Regions from separate parts of the Homo sapiens genome. Here region 1 is linked to region 2. Evidence: promoter capture Hi-C in 16 types of primary human blood cells and fetal thymus (Javierre and others, 2016). All regions are on one chromosome and are shown on one strand. Each heading gives the region's core, a stretch centred on a gene start or on the middle of the fragment in contact. The rest is flanking DNA. Distances are from core to core; before and after follow the strand shown. Region 1 overlaps ANKS1B (ankyrin repeat and sterile alpha motif domain containing 1B). Region 2 holds the start of LINC02453 (long intergenic non-protein coding RNA 2453).

Evidence for each region. The method cuts DNA at HindIII sites, captures the fragments that hold promoters and counts their contacts. A CHiCAGO score of 5 or more calls a contact.
Region 1: a contact is called between a fragment that was not itself captured here and the fragment with the promoter of LINC02453 in region 2, in 1 of 17 cell types (neutrophils). The highest score is 9.2, in neutrophils.

The regions. Positions count from the first base shown.
Region 1 is chr12:98,759,248-98,764,275 of GRCh38, reverse strand. The region is part of intron 25 of ANKS1B (ankyrin repeat and sterile alpha motif domain containing 1B); the gene reads left to right. Among named protein-coding and RNA genes, the nearest start is that of APAF1, 120 kb to the right of the region's middle. The HindIII fragment of the contact is 1,435 bases long and covers 2,497-3,931 here.
Region 2 is chr12:98,500,423-98,505,302 of GRCh38, reverse strand. It overlaps LINC02453 (long intergenic non-protein coding RNA 2453), which reads left to right and starts at 1,448. Exons shown (of 4, transcript NR_038383.1): 1 at 1,448-1,543; 2 at 2,691-2,720. TRD-GTC1-1 (tRNA-Asp (anticodon GTC) 1-1) reads right to left here and starts at 1,800; the gene lies at 1,729-1,800. TRW-CCA4-1 (tRNA-Trp (anticodon CCA) 4-1) reads right to left here and starts at 1,051; the gene lies at 980-1,051. RefSeq lists enhancers at 1,091-1,390, 1,401-1,710. The HindIII fragment of the contact is 12,452 bases long and covers 1-4,880 here.

The sequences.
Region 1 (5,028 bases), core at 1,965-4,464, 260 kb before region 2:
CAGCCTGGGTAACACAGTGAGACCCTGTCTTGAAAAAAACAAAAAGTTAGTGAAGAGTTCCCTACAGCTTCCACTGGAGCTTTTTCTTTTGAGGAGCAGGGGAGAGGTTGAAATCTGGCATTTCTTCCTCCTGTACCACCTTTGCACAAACCCTGGCCAAGTTACAGGATAAAGATTGCATGTTTCTTCCTCCCAGGCAGGCCAGTCCCTCTGGATGGGTGTGACAGGGCTGCTGGCCAGCCACCTTAGGCTGTGGTTCCATGAAGACAGGTGACCAGTGTGTTGGGCTGCAGTGCATGACATCCACAGGGAACCTGGAATGCTATTAATATAAGAAAGCAAGTTGTGGTTTAACAAAGTAAGGCCCAACCTCCTATACTTGGGGTGAGGCATAAAGTTAAACCTCAGCAGATACAGTGGAACGCTCACCCCCTTTAAAAATCTGGTTTTTGAAGAACGTGTAATGGCATGCGAAGACCAACTATGAGATAATGTTGCGCAAAAAAGGAACTTATGAGACTGCACATAAAATATGTTATGATTTTAGACTCATAAAGTATTCTAGTTTTTAAATTCATATTTAAATATTCATATAGGAAATGAAAGTATTTGGGTGTATATACAAATATAAAAAGAAAATGCACCAAGATGTTAGCAGTAGCCATATCCCAACAGTGGAATTTCACAGCTGAATTTTATTTTTTCCTTTATTCTTAGTATTTTCAAAATTTTCTACATCTGCCCCTGTTATAATTAGGGAGATAAAGGAATCTCGTGGCTCTTTTAGTTAGCCAAAATTAGCCCTAAAGAAGCTACCTGCATTTTGGCCAGTTGATTTGTCATCTTGCCCCAGATAGACATCTTAGCAGAATTGCTAATATTTGTTTCTAAATGCTGAAGGCTATGATTGGGCACTATTTATTTCTGTACAATCTATGAAGACTAATTTCTGGCTGGTACTTGAGAGAACTAACTATAGGTAGAGCTAAAGAGATGTCAATGAAGTCTGTGAATATGCCCAGAATATTCTCGAAGTTATTTTTGCCTCCGGACGTGGGTGAAGCAAGTTGTAGACCAGGCTTACCCCAGGTCTTAAAAAAACAAGTACAAGCAAAATATAGCCTAAAAAGAAATGTCGCTTCTTTCTGGAGACCCCACTGAGAACCCAGATTGAAAAAAACCTTCTTGTGTCTTCAGGCCCCCTGTGGCATTATCTGCACTTGTCTAGCTTTTGTTCTTCAGGTCTGCCTGTGGGAGAGAAGACAGAAGGAAGGAATTGGCTCTGGCCATCCATATTCCCCCTTTTCTTAACCTTAAGGTGCAAGTTCCCTTATCTTAGGGACCTACCAGGCAACTTCCTTTTTGTGTTTAGCCAACAAACATTTCTTGAGCACCTGACCTATTCTAAGCCCTAGAGATGCAAAGCCCAGTGAGACCAGAGCCCTCAAGGAGCTCAGTCAACTGGGGGAATCAGCCCTATAAGGAGAAAATCATAATAAATACCACGTGGTAAGTAGGGCTGTGCCCAAGGTATTGTGGCACCGCAGAGGAGGGGCACCTAACTTAGCCAGGGTTGGGAGGACAGGAAAGGAGATTCAAAGAAGGCTTCTGGAGATATGATGCCCGAGGTGAGTCTTCAAGGATAAGCAGTAACTCACCAGGCAAAGGTGGGAGATGGCAAACGCATGTATTGCCAAGAACAAATCCATTTTGTAATAGATGAAATGCTTGGCCATTTGGAATAGCATTTAGGGGTGATTGCTGGAATGAAGGTGTTTTCTGAGATGAAGGGCAGCCCGTTGGTGGTGACTGCCTCTCTGAGCTCTAGCTGGTGGGTTATGGAGCCCTGCAGTCTGGCCTCTGGGTAACATGCCACTGTTTAGCACAGCATCAACTGTGCGTGCATCTCTAAACTGAATCTGTAGTTGACTGGGTAAAAGATAGCCCCTTCTAATCAGAGAATCCTGAAACTCCCAGGGTGGAAAGGGACCAATAGGTCACCTGGACCACACCCACTTCTCAGTGGCAATAGGTGCTGTAGGTAGGTAGCCCATGGTGGAGCTGGCCTATGCAGGTGATCCAGGGACTCTGTTTATGGCCTCTATTCACTGATAGACACTTTTCAATCAGACATCTCAAGGTACTTTATGACACCCAAGCTTTTCTGCCCTGGACTCCCACATACAGACACAGCCCTTCCCTTGAACGTGTCTGCATCTGTGCCCTCTTCATGGTGTGGGTGAGCTTCTGCTGACCCCTGTCTGGGCCTGCAGCTCTCTGATGCTATGGAATGAATACATTTGTTCATTCCATTCCAGTCATGAAAATGTGGCCATTGTGTTTCTAATGGTAATGCAAAGCACTGCAAGGCAGGTCAAAATGGTCCACTCAGAAAGAGCAGCCTCCCAGCCTGGGTCAGGAGGGCCTTTCCTCCCTGGATGGCCTCCTCCTCAGATTCCTTACTCCTTCGTCATATTCGCCAGATGAGATGAAGCTTTATGCCTGACATACCTTGTCAGCCATTTGGGCAGCAATGCATTCAACAAAGTAAGTCCTGGAATAAATATCTAAGTGAACAAATGGACAGTGTTTCTACCATGCCTCATTCCATAACGGATTGAAGACAGCCTACATGAATAGGTATAGTAGTCTGAAAATATATATATACATACACACAAATCTGAATTAGGGAAAATATAGGCTAAAAGGAAGCTCCATATCAAGGGAAAAGTTGTAGCATCAATATACAGACCATGGAGTTGTGGAAAGGTATGGGAGCTGGGCTCTCTCTAGCTCTGAGCTTTTAGCTCTGAGCTTCCTGGAGGTCAAGGCAAAAAGGGAAATGCAGTAATTTTATGCTGCATATTTCTTTGAAAGAAAAGTATACCCCTTCCCTTCCGAAAATAGTATTTTAATAAGACTTAAGTATGAAGGAACTTTCTGTCCTAGGCCCCCATGAGGGGATACTGTGTAATAATGTCTTCACCAACATTTGTACAGTGAATCTCCAAAACACAAGATGGTGTTCTAGAGGGTGCCTCAATGAAATAGGCACAGAAGACCAGCACATTCATGAGAGCAATGAAGGTAGGATAGCCCAGTGGCATGAAACACTGGCTAATCTGAAGTCAGATCTGCACTTGAATCCTGGCTCTGCTGTATGAACTTGGCCAAGTTGTCAATTTCGCTGATCCTTAGTTTCTCACACGTAAAATGAGGATGGTCATTCCTCCTCTGTAAGGTGTTGTAAGGGGTAGACAATCCACAGAAGGCACTTAGCCTCGTCCCTAGGATGTAGTAGGCAATATCATGTGTAGTTGCTGCTGCCACTGCTTTATCATCATTATGAAAGGAAATAAAATACAGTTCAAGTTCATAGGCAGTTTGACTTCGTGCAGAGATCAAACTTTGCACAGCTACAAGAGCGGATTGACTGCATGTCTATAAGTTAATATCCACGTAACAACATTTTTCACTTGGGCTTGGCAGAAGTTGGACCATTAAAGGGTCAATTCCGCACTTGGAGTAGAAGTATTAGGGTTGCAGCTTAAAGGAAGAGCTTGATACTTCAAAGTCTCACTGAGAAGATGTTAGAATTGGCATCCAGTATGAAAACTGAAGAGCCTAAACAAGATTCTTTGCCAAATGAATGGGCAGCTTCCTGGCACATAGAGGTGAGCCATGACAGCACCTGCAGAGAGGTTCCAGATTTTGCTGGAAAGTAGTTCCCAGCCCTCTCAGCCAGAGAATGAAGAGACCCTCAGAACCCCAAGGTGATGCAGAAAGAATAAGATCCATCCTGGGCAACATGTTGAAACCCTGTCTCTAAAAAACATACAAAAATCAGCCAGGTGTGATGACACATTACCTGTGGTCCCAGCTACTCCAGAGGCTGAGGTGAGAGGATCATGTGAGCCTGGGAGGTCAAGCTTTCTGTGAGCCATGACTGTGCCACTGCACTCCAGCCTGGACAACAGAGCAAGACCCTGTCTCAAAAAAAAAAAGCAAGAATAAGACTATTTTAAACGCAAAAGACTTTCTCTTGTTTTTAATTATCAAAATGGAAAGATTATTTTATGACTGTAAACATCATTAATCCTCATTTAAATAAAGTTCCAAAATACAAAAATAGAAATCATCCAGTCTCAATACGCAGTGATAACTACTATTCACATTTGATCCATATTGCTATTTTCTATGCATATATACAGATCCTATCTATGTGTATATGTATACATATATTTTTACGTAGTCTTTTAACCCATTATTGATTTATTTATTTTATTTATTTATTTTTAGACGGAGTCTCACTCTGTCACCCAGGCTGGAATGCAGTGGTGCGACCTCGGCTCATTGCAATCTTCACCTCCTGGGCTCAAGCGAGTCTCCTGCCTCAGCCCCCCGAGTAGCTGGGATTACAGATGTGCACCACCACGCCCAGCTAATTTTTTGTATTTTAGTAGAGACAGCGTTTCACCATGTTGCCCGGGGTGGTCTTGAACTCCTGAGCTCAGGCAATCCACCCGCCTCCAGTTTTCATGTTAAATGGCTACCTAGTATTCTACTTAATCAGTCCTCTAATAATGAAAAATTTAAACACTTTAATGAATATTTTTGCACATGTATCAGTGAACCCTTGTGCCTAAGAGATTTTCAAACTAAGAAACAAAAATCTTAGTGATGTACCAGTTAAAATAAATTAATTACCTTGGTGGCTAGAGCTTTTTCTAGGGGACAGATTGCCCACCATCTATGATGCAATTTTTCTCATACTAGACCGATGAATATGCTGCGTATAGCCTCGGGGACAAGGATGCGGGAGGACAGCGAGGAAGATCTCTTTGTCTCTCCATGAGCCTCCTCTGGATGTAATGAGAGTCTTGATGGACACTTTTACTCCCCCATGTCATTCAGTGATCACTTCCTGGACATTGTCTATAGGCTAGGCATGGGACTGGCACCAGGGACACAGCCCTTAACACTTGGAAGGAGCTTGGTAAATATCTGTGGTGATGTTCAATATCCATG
Region 2 (4,880 bases), core at 199-2,698:
TAATAGTCAAAAGTGGTGACTAGTCATCACTCGCATAATCGGTGAAAACATAAAAGGCGCCCAGTCCAACAGCTTTTCCCACATTCCTCCCCGCCACCCACCTCCAGAAGGAGTCTTGCTTGGTCACCCAGGCTCACTGCAACCTCCGCCTCCCGGGTTCAATCAATTCTTCTGCCTCAGCCTCCGGAGTAGCTGGGATTACAGGTGCACCCCACCATGCCCAGCTAATTTTTGTATTTTCAGTAGAAATGGGGTTTCACCATGTTGGTCAGGCTGGTCTTGAACTCCTGACCTCGTGATCCACCCACTTTGGCCTTCCAAAGTGCTAGGATTACAGGTGTAAGCCACTGAGCCTGGCAGTCACACATTCTTTCAACTGTTTGTTTCCACCTTTATTATAAAGTATTTATAAAGAGGGATCCAGAGTCCCTCACCTGGTTCAGAATCTTGGGTGACCCTTGGCAGGTCACTAACCCTGTGAGCCACAGCCACATTTGTAAAAGTGGGATAATAGTCACACATTGTGAGGTTGTTCACAGTGTTGGCACATGGTAAGGGCTAAGACACTTGATTAGCATAATATTCAAAATTAGAAATTGTACACTATTGTACTCTCTTTCAAAAGGCAAACAGCCTAAAACTGTTTGGAAAAAACAGCTTGTACAGTATATTGTACACTTCCTGTGATAGACTAGTGGACTGATACACCCACTAATGCACAGCAGTAATAGTCCACCTCTTTACACATTATGCATGTTAAGTGACAAAAAAACTCACTTTAAAAGGCCAAATGATAAAAACATCAGCCTTGAGGCTCTTCGATATAGAGTAAATCATATCTTCCTGCAAACCAAGGATTAGTATCATAATACCTGAAAGAGGAAAACTTAATTCTAACATTCAAGAAAATTGGCGGCAGGAATACACCTCGGCTTCTAGTAGTCGGTAGTTTAAAATACAGGAGGAAAAAAAAAAAGTTTGACCCCGACGTGATTCGAACACGCAGCCTTCTGATCTGGAGTCAGACGCGCTACCGTTGCGCCACGAGGTCCTGCTGGGCTGTGGCTCGCGCAGTTTCTTAGGACACCAGTAAATGGCGTTTCTTCCAGGGGTACCAGTCTTTCTCTTCCATTTACTCTCTGCCCCTCCACCCAGTATCTGTCGGACCAGGAGACCGATTCCTTCAGCGTCCAAACTTTCCTGACTGCTAGTCCTCTAACCAAGGCTGGGACGTAACCAGCGGAAGCGGGAGAACGGGGCTTCCCGTTTAGTCGGGTCTCCAGGATCAAAGGAAATTGGCCCTTCCTTTTCTTTACCAAATGATTTCCGTTCTTACCCGCCCTGCCCCCGCCCCGTTAGTCGCGAGACTCCGCCCTCTCTCCCCTCCCCCAACAGGTTCCGCGCGCTGAGTTCGCGACCTCGAGTTGTAATCTGGCGGGGCGCCACTAAGCCGGCGCAGGCCTTCGCAAGATGGCGGCTGGAGGCAAGGGCAGAGGCCTTCAGAGCGTTTTCTTTTTCCCTTTCCTCCCTTCCTGCAAACAATGTAAGGCATTTTCTCTCAGGGGAGGCTTTCACTTCATGGTGGGCATTAAGGTTAAAAGTCACCATTTTGAAGACAGGGTTGTGCACTTAAGGGAGCTGGTTTAGCATATTATGTTTAACAGCAGTGTCCTGTCATTGAATGATACAGAAAATAATAACTGTCGCCAAAAAAGTGCAGCTACACACCTCCCCGTCGGGGAATTGAACCCCGGTCTCCCGCGTGACAGGCGGGGATACTAACCACTATACTAACGAGGAGTCGTTAGGCTGTGTATTTTCTCAGACAGCCCTTCAAGGAGCAGTAAGATCCTTCCAGCGCTCCGTAACCTTCCGCCTGCCCCCGGGAAGTACGAAAGTCCGGTCTCTTGGAGCCGCTGCTTAGGCTTATTGTCCTCTCTGGGCGCTTTGTATTCTTGATGTTGGTGGGAAGAATAAAAGGTGTGGAATATGTGAAGGAAACGCGCTTCCCATGTTAGTGCTAGAGAAGTGTGTGAAAATAGTTTTTCCGAGGCTCTTGACGCGTTCTAAATGATTTAGGTTGCCGTCCTGAGTTTTTTTTTTTTAACTGACCACTGGTATGTGACTTGCGGCTGAGCCTTCCCCTTACAAATTTATACTTTCACTCTGAAGTTCAAGTTCAAGGATAGCATATGGCTGCCAGATGTCGGGGACAGTTAGGGTTGCCACGGTCTCGTGCCTCTTCAAACAATTCATAAGTCTTTTTTTTTTGAGAGGAAGTCTCGCTCTGTCCCCTAGGCTGGAGTGCAGTGTTGCGATCTGGGCTCACTACAACCTCCACCTCCAAGGCTCAAGTGATTCTCCCGCCTCAGCCTCTCGAGTGGCTGGGATTACAGGCGCGCACCACCATGCCTGGCTAATTTTTGTATTTTACTAGAGACGCGGGGTGTGTGTGTGTGTGTGGGGGGGGGGAGGGTTCACCATGTTGGCCAGACTGGTCTCGAACTCGTGACCTTTAGTGATCCACCTGCCTCGGCCTCCCAAAGTGCTGGGATTTACAGGCGTGAGCCACCGCGCCCGGCCAATTCACACACTTTTGTAACACAAAAGCGCCCAATGAAATGACCAGCTGCGGGCAAATGAAATTTTATCAAAATTTTATCAGCCGACTTCTGTTTCGCTCTCTGTAGGTGGCTACAGTTTAACTGGAAGTGACAAACGTAAGTATGTGAATGGCTAAATAATAATGCGTTTAAATAATTCAAAACCAGGATGTGCCACTGATTAAACATATGGGTTAGGAAAGTGCACTAATCGGATAATTTGATAATTTGTGTCATCCTAAACCCGTTCATAGACAGGATGAACCCTCTTCCCAGGGATACTAAGAGAGCCTTATATGTAAACTTTTTTTTTTGAGACGGAGTTTCACTCTTGTTGCCCAGGCTGGAGTGCAGTGGTGCGATCTTGGCTCACTACCACCTCCGTCCCCCGGGTTCAAGCGATTCTCCTGTCTCAGCCTCCCGAGTAGCTGGGATTACAGGTGCCCACAAACACGCCCGTTCAATTTGTGTTTCTAGTAGAGATGGTAATTCACCACGTTGGTCAGGCTGGTCTCGAACTCCTGACCTAAGGTGATCCACCCACCTCGGCCTCCCAAAGTGCTGGGATTACAGGCGTGAGCCACCGCGCCTGGCTATAAACTTTTGATTTTCTCTAAAGGAGTGTGTTTATAGGCACAGATAAACTGACATGATTGAAAGCGTTTCATTATAGAACTTAAACTTACGTGTCTCGTCTCCGACCCAACCAATCAGGACTCCCAACTCACTGACCCCTACCCAACAAATTATCCTTAAAGATAATAAAAATAACAACAACAACAACAACAACAACAAAAACCCCACATATGTGTCTTAAGGAATCCCTTGTTTCTAGTGTGCTACGAATTAATGTATTATCCATCATAAATTATAAGGTATTTTTCATCTGATGGAAGGGATAATTTTTTTAATGCAGATATTAAACAAATGGCAGTTTCTGAGGCTTGTTTTGGCTTTTCTTTCTTTTTTGCTCTCATTATTATTATTATTATTTGAGACGGAGTCTTGCTCTGTCGCCCAGGCAGGAGTGCAGTGGCACGCTCTCGGCTCACTGCAACCTCCGCCTTCTGGGTTCGGGCGATTCCTCTGCCTTAGCCTCCCGAGTAGCTGGAACTACAGGCGCACGCCACCACTCCCTTTTGTATTTTTAGTAGAGTCGGGGGTTTCACCATGTTAGTCAGGCTGGTCTCAAACTCCTGACCTCAAGTGATCCACCCGCCTCGGCCTCAAGCGGCCGCGCTCAGCCCTTTTTCACTCTCTCTCTCTTTTCTTTTTTTGAGACGCAGTTTTGCTCTTGTTGCCCAGGTTGGAGTGCAATGGCACAATCTTGGCTCACTGCAACGTCTGCCTCCCGAGTTCAAGCGATTCTCCTGCCTCAGTCTCCCAAGTAGCTGGATTACAGGCATGTGCCACCACAGCCAGCTAATTTTGTATTTCTAGTAGAGACAGTTTCACCATGTTGGTCAGGCTGATCTAGAACTCCTGACCTCAGGTGATTCACCCGCCTCGGCCTCCCAAAGTGCTGGGATTACAGGCGTGAGCCACCGCGCCCGGCCCCTGTTTCACTCTTAACTACACCGAAAGCCTCAATACAAACTCTCAGTGTGTGGGAGCCTCCTTCCACTTTGATCCTCCAAAAACTTTTGCCAGGGCCAAAGGGCACTGTGATAGCTATGATGACGTCCTTTTCCTAGTAAAATCGAAGGGACTTCCCCAAGTCTCTCAGTTCGTAGAGCTATGGGGCAGTGAACCCAGTTCTCCTGAATCAACTGTTTGCCCCGTGTTCTGCACTCTCGGGAAAAGCAGCTTCATCTCTTCCTTTAGAAGAGACATCCTTTCCACTGAAGCTCTCGTAAAGCTATGCCAGTGCTCACACACGTGTTGTTACTGCTCCTTTTTCATCCCTGGTGAAAGTAAGAGGCAGTCTGAGTCAGTGAGATCAGGGAGCAGGGAACGCAGCACTTGCTGTCCATCATCCGAAAATGGAAAGGAAAAGAGAGGGCAATTAACCTGAACAGGGTGAGGGAGCTCAGAGGTTCCTCCCTGTCAGCACTGGGCAAAAATAAAGGTTAAAATCTGACTGGCAGTACAGAGGGCATGGAACTCTCTTCGGGAATAAATGGCATGATGACAATGAGTGTTATTCAAAGTTTCAAATCCTGCTCTTCCTAAAGAACTATGCTGCATATCTCAGCTTGCTAAATGATTCACATTCATTTTATTTTCTCAACAACCTGTTAGGTCAATGGGACAAGTGTTTTTATTCCTATTTGGGAA